Linked DNA regions of Homo sapiens: region 1 is linked to region 2. Evidence: promoter capture Hi-C in 16 types of primary human blood cells and fetal thymus (Javierre and others, 2016). All regions are on one chromosome and are shown on one strand. The core of a region is centred on a gene start or on the middle of the fragment in contact, and the rest is flanking DNA. Distances in the headings are between cores, read along the strand shown. Region 1 overlaps TRG-AS1 (T cell receptor gamma locus antisense RNA 1). Region 2 holds the start of YAE1-DT (YAE1 divergent transcript).

What was found. The method cuts DNA at HindIII sites, captures the fragments that hold promoters and counts their contacts. A CHiCAGO score of 5 or more calls a contact.
Region 1: a fragment that was not itself captured here is called in contact with the fragment with the promoter of YAE1-DT in region 2 in 1 of 17 cell types (naive CD8 T cells); the score reaches 5.2 in naive CD8 T cells.

Annotation. Positions count from the first base shown.
Region 1 is chr7:38,378,254-38,380,953 of GRCh38, forward strand. It overlaps TRG-AS1 (T cell receptor gamma locus antisense RNA 1), which reads left to right. Exons shown (of 4, transcript NR_040085.2): 4 at 1-387. Among named protein-coding and RNA genes, the nearest start is that of TRG-AS1, 38 kb to the left of the region's middle. The HindIII fragment of the contact is 2,106 bases long and covers 198-2,303 here.
Region 2 is chr7:39,565,010-39,567,709 of GRCh38, forward strand. YAE1-DT (YAE1 divergent transcript) reads right to left here and starts at 1,340. Exons shown (of 3, transcript NR_187579.1): 1 at 1,134-1,340. It overlaps YAE1 (YAE1 maturation factor of ABCE1), which reads left to right and starts at 1,395. Exons shown (of 3, transcript NM_020192.5): 1 at 1,395-1,538. The coding sequence starts at 1,410. It also overlaps the pseudogene TMX1P1. RefSeq lists an enhancer at 1,232-1,681. The HindIII fragment of the contact is 5,827 bases long and covers 1-2,108 here.

The DNA of each region.
Region 1 (2,700 bases), core at 1-2,500, 1.2 Mb before region 2:
AAACAAAAAAAATGGCACAGGTCTGATTATTAGGAAGCTGAGGTTCTTTTTTATACTTAGTATTCACTGAAGTGTGAATTACCTTTCATGTCCTCTAAACATACCAACAAGGAGGCTGGAGTTAGGACTTATGTTAGAGCCAGCCTGCCTGGGGCACAGCCTGGCCCTGCCATTTATTGACTGTGTGACTTTGAGAAAGCTTCCTCATGTAACTCTATCTTAGCTTCCCTGCCTGTAATAAGTAAAAACAGCAACTACCTCATAGATTTGTAAAGATTACATAAAATAATACATGCAATGCATGGCAAACGACAGTCAACGAATGTTATTATTATATTAACTATTGCCATATTATAAATATAAATAAATATAAATGATATAAACAAACTAATAATAGTAATTATTCATTTATTCTTGACTTGAATGAGATCCTTGTGTACTTTAGACATTTATCCTTTGTGAATTTGGGATGGTACAAATATCTTAGGCAAGTCTATCATCTGTCTACCAACTAACTATCTCAAATATCTTTTCATTAAATATAAATTCTTAATTTTGGAGTCAAACTCTTTTTTTTTTTTTTTTTTTGCCCATATACTTTGGGTGTTTCCGAGTCTCATTTAAGAAAACTTTCCCCTCTCCAATATCACAGAAGTATTTTGCATTTTCTTCTCACACTCAGTTTCAAATTTTATTCCATGTTGATCCTGGGATTAGGGTTTCTGGACTTCCCTGAACTAATCGTTCAATCAGCCTCTTGTTCGTTCACTCAGCACACAAGTATACAAGATCCAGAAGTGAATACAGCATGCAGAGAAGGTTGGAGACAGTGTGCCTCTTGGTAGGGGAAATGAAGGGCTAGGGAGTATCATATTTACTCTAAATGTGGAAAGAATGTAGAAGGATGAGAGGACGGGGGATTTTGAGGATACAGGGCTTGGACTACGCCTGGGGGATGGGATTAGAGGCCAACAGGAGAGGGGAAGGCATCCCAGGAGAGGGGTTTTGCAAAACGGCAAGAAAGGTGTATAGCTGAGGGGGAGAAGGCGGGTGGGGTGCTGAGGAGACGCCTCTGAAGCAGGCAGTGGATGAATACTGGGGAAGAGGTGAAGTTCAGCTCTGAAGACCAAGCAGAGGCTCCTGGATCTGGTATGACATGCAGCAGATATTCATCATTTGTGTATGTGTTTCTGAGAGGGAGAGGCGAGGAGGGAGTGGGGACCTGTTGGGTACTTAAAATGGGTGGGCAGTAGGGTACGAGGAAGACAAGAAGTCAGGTGGCAAGGGAGACAACAAGGATCCAATTTGTCTTCTCTGTCAGTGTGAAGAACAGAACCCCGACTAGATTAAAGTGCAAGGTTGTATGTTTTGCAGGGAAATCATAGCAGGTGCCCCAAATCTGGAAAATGATGCACAAAGGAAGCTCCCAAGTCTTCAGGCCCAAGATTCTGAAGAATGGAGGAGCCCCTCAGTGACGCACCATGGAGGGGTTTGGAAGGAAGTCCCTCAAGCGTGAAGTCTAAATCTTATGAATGCGGTCCCCATGTACAGTAACTGACACTTAGCTGGTGCTTGATATATTTTAATGAACAAATGAACATGTGGACTTGGAAGCAATAATTGGACACTCCAAAGGCAACATTCCTTGGACAACTGGAACACAAATTGAAGGACAGGTCGCTATTGCCCCACCCCACTTCCAGCAACCACAGGAAGGAGGAAAAAAAATTAGGAACAGTAACAGAGAAGGAACAACAAGAGAGGTAAGAAAACAAGGAAAGTTCGTATCTTGGAATCTTGGGGGAGAATTGGAAGTTTGGTGGCATCTCCAAATGCCACAGACAGCACTTTGTGATCACTGGTAGGGTTTTGGAGAGCAGAGCATAATGACACAGAGTTTAATATTTACTGGTGGGAGAGGGTGTAGGGTATCAGCCATGTGGCAAGGTGCGTATGGACAAGGCACTCCTGGGCTGGACTGGTTTTACAGGGCATCAGAGTGCAGCAGGGAGGGAAATAAGCATGCAATTCTGACCCAACCCTCAAGAATCAAACAACCTGAGTGTTTGACCTGAGATCGGGGGGACTGGGAATTAACTGGATTTTAGGAAACAAAGATAAAATTTAGATTTCTTTGGAAAGAGCTTCAGGGTACCTACCTGGCCTTCCTCTCAATTTGCATAGATGTAAGGGTTATGTCTCAAATATCTTTTAAGTGGAAAAAGTCACTATTTGCTGCTGCTTGTTAAGTGATCCTTAAAAGGTATTACCAATGAGTCACAAAATATTTGGATGGAATATTAAGCTTATTCGCGCATGGTTTATTTGGCTTTATGAACAACTTATCAACCCCCTACTGTGTGCCTTGAAGAACGCTGCCCGTGAACATCCAGGCGGTCTCCTCCTGGTGATTCAGGACAGGATCATCATCAAACAGGGATGCACCTGCAGGGCTCAAAGATGAACAAAACCACCTGGATCTCCATTTTCTAAGTCTTCCAAGAGAATATTGGTCATTGTCTTCTCTGTGCTGTTACCAAATGTCCGATTCCATTTACTGAAGTCCTAGGAAAGTCTCACACCAGGAAGACGGTAGCTACAGCACTGTGTAGAAAAGCTGTGCGATCTGCTCATCTCCAAGTTCTGACACGTTTGTAAGGTTTTTAGTTGAGTTCCAAGTAAAAACCAGAAGGCAGCTGT
Region 2 (2,700 bases), core at 90-2,589:
ATTTTCTTAGAAAGTCATTCATATCTCTCAGGTTTTCGAATGTGTTGCTTTTGAGTTTTAGTTGGTAATTAATATTTTAATCTCCTTCTGCATCAGTGGTTATCTCATTTCTCATTCTTGTATAATTTTGTTCTCTTTAAAAATCTGGGTCATGACAGGATTATCTATCTTATTGGTGTTTTCAAATAATACAAAAAAGAATTGGACTTACTTATTCAAGTTTTGAGGTTTTCTATTTTATTGTTATCTTTATTGCTTACTACCATTTTGTTCCTAATAAAGATATATACATATATCTTAATATATTTACATTAATAAAATATACATATTTGTAGTTTATATATTTTTTATTTGTGGGATGCCAAATTCTCTCTGGAGATTTAAAATTGTAACATGAACCAACCACCCACTCCCACACACTTATGGTTCTTACTGTGCTTATTTAAAAATTTTTTTCATAGCATTTATTTATGATCTTCTAACAAACCTTATGCTACTTATATATTGCTTATTGTTTATCCTGTCAATTTTACATGACTATAAAGTCGACAAGGGTTGGGAACTTCCGTCTGTTCATTGATGTATCCCAAAGCCTGGAATGGTACCTGACACAAGGTAGGTGTTCAATAAATTGTTAGATAAATAAATCATAATCACATGACTCATTTTACCCAGGCAAAGGGCAAAACAGGAATACTACAGGTATTCATTCATTCACCAAAATAGAGTTCAGCATTTACTATGTGTCAGAACTGTCCTGGTGTTGACACAAGTCCCCACCCTTACCAAACCAACTGTTTACTTTAGGGCATATGAACAGGAATGGGAGGCAGAAGGATATCGTGAATCAATGAAAAAATATATTGGCTTTACAAATGTACTCTATATTTCTTACTAATCTCAAATTGGCTACAGTACCTCGCTTTTCGATCCTATTTTCCTTTACTCCACAATCCTAACAGTTTAAAATGTCGGCTTGTCAAATCCTTTAAATGCAGAGGAGATTCCAAAAGAGACAAAGTATTTGGGTGGTAATCGCCCATCGACTTTACTACCTTTAATAGTTTACCAAAGCGCGCGAATGTAAAACCCAGACCATGGTAAGACTACGGTGGAAATGGAAGGTGTCTCACTGAGGGTCCCGGTTGCCTTCTGCAAAGGTGAAGGTCGTGCCGGCCACGCGAGGAAATCTGCCTCGCTCACAACTCACAGGCACACATCAACACTGCCAACCGAGGGAGCCCAAAATCACCGCAAGCGAAAGGCTCCGGCGGCGGCCACGGGCCACAGCCCGCCTCCGCGCACACGCAGCCCCTCCCGAGCCTCCACTCGCCGTCTTCGCCCCGCCTTCGGACCGGAAGGAGTTGTTGGCGCTTCCGGTGGCCTGCGACCCCGTAATTGCCTCGGTGATGTCGTGGGTTCAAGCAGCCTCCTTGATCCAGGGCCCTGGAGACAAAGGGGACGTGTTTGACGAAGAAGCAGACGAGTCGCTCCTGGCGCAGCGGGAATGGCAGAGTAACATGCAAAGACGAGTCAAAGTAAACGTGGTGTGGACGGCGCGGGGTGCTGGGTTGTGGGAAGAGGCGCGGAGTTGTGAAGAAGCTGGGTCCAGAGTGGCCCCAGCCTGGCCCGGCGCTGCTCTCTTTATCCCTAGGGACCCGGTCCGACCCGCGTCTTGCTAGGATTTCTCGATGGTTACTTGAAAGCGTGTAAAACAACAAGACGCATTCTTTGAGCGCCTACGGGATGCGTTAGAAACTGAGGACCGACCAAAATTAACTATGTGTAGACTTTGAACAGTTTGCAGTTTGTTGAGGATCACAGGGAAAGGAGCTGGAGAGAAACATACACTATACTTATTATGGCTGTCAAAGGACGTGTACGCAGTTTATATGGGTGGCTTGAATGGGTAGGGAGCCTAAAGTTAAGGAGTAGTGTTAATCAAGACATATTGAAAAGATGAACTAAAGCATGCTGTCAGAGGACAATAAGGGAAAGCTAATGTGGAATACTGGTGTCTAGGTAAGGGAATATTAAAGTTGGTTTCTTTTTTATTTGTTAGATGTAACTTTTTCATCTCTAATTTGTCTCACTATTCATTGAAACTAAGCTTAATTTCTGTGTGCAGCCTACAGTATTTCTGGGTGAGGACCAAATAGTGAGGTCCACATCCACTTAATATATTTGCCAACCATTAAATTGCCGCTAAAGCTGCAGTTGGGAATCTGCCCTGTTTAATATTTCAGTAGAGTGGTATTTGCTTAGCCCAAAAACCATGTTGTCAATTACAAAAATGCTTTATGTGAGACTGGGGCCACACTAATAAGTATTGAGCATCTTTTAAATGCTGTGGCACCGTGAGAGATGCAGAACGAAATCACTACCCACAGAGCTTTTGCAGGTTAGTTGAATTTAGGTATTATGCAAAATTTCTGAAACCAGACTTCTCATCATCCTTTTTTTTTTAAACAATTTCCTCTCTCTGCTTTGCCCTGTCTCCTCACCCACCCACACCATTCCAATCAGTTGGCAAGAGCCCAGATGTGTAATTTTCCATATATCCTTTTTGTGAAGACATTGCTAATGCTGGGTTTTGTTTTTTGTTTTTTGGTTTTTTTAATCTTTTGAAGTGATTAGAAAAGTTTATTTTGTGCTTAGGATATTTTTCTAAGGCATCACAGGTTACACATCCAAACTCTT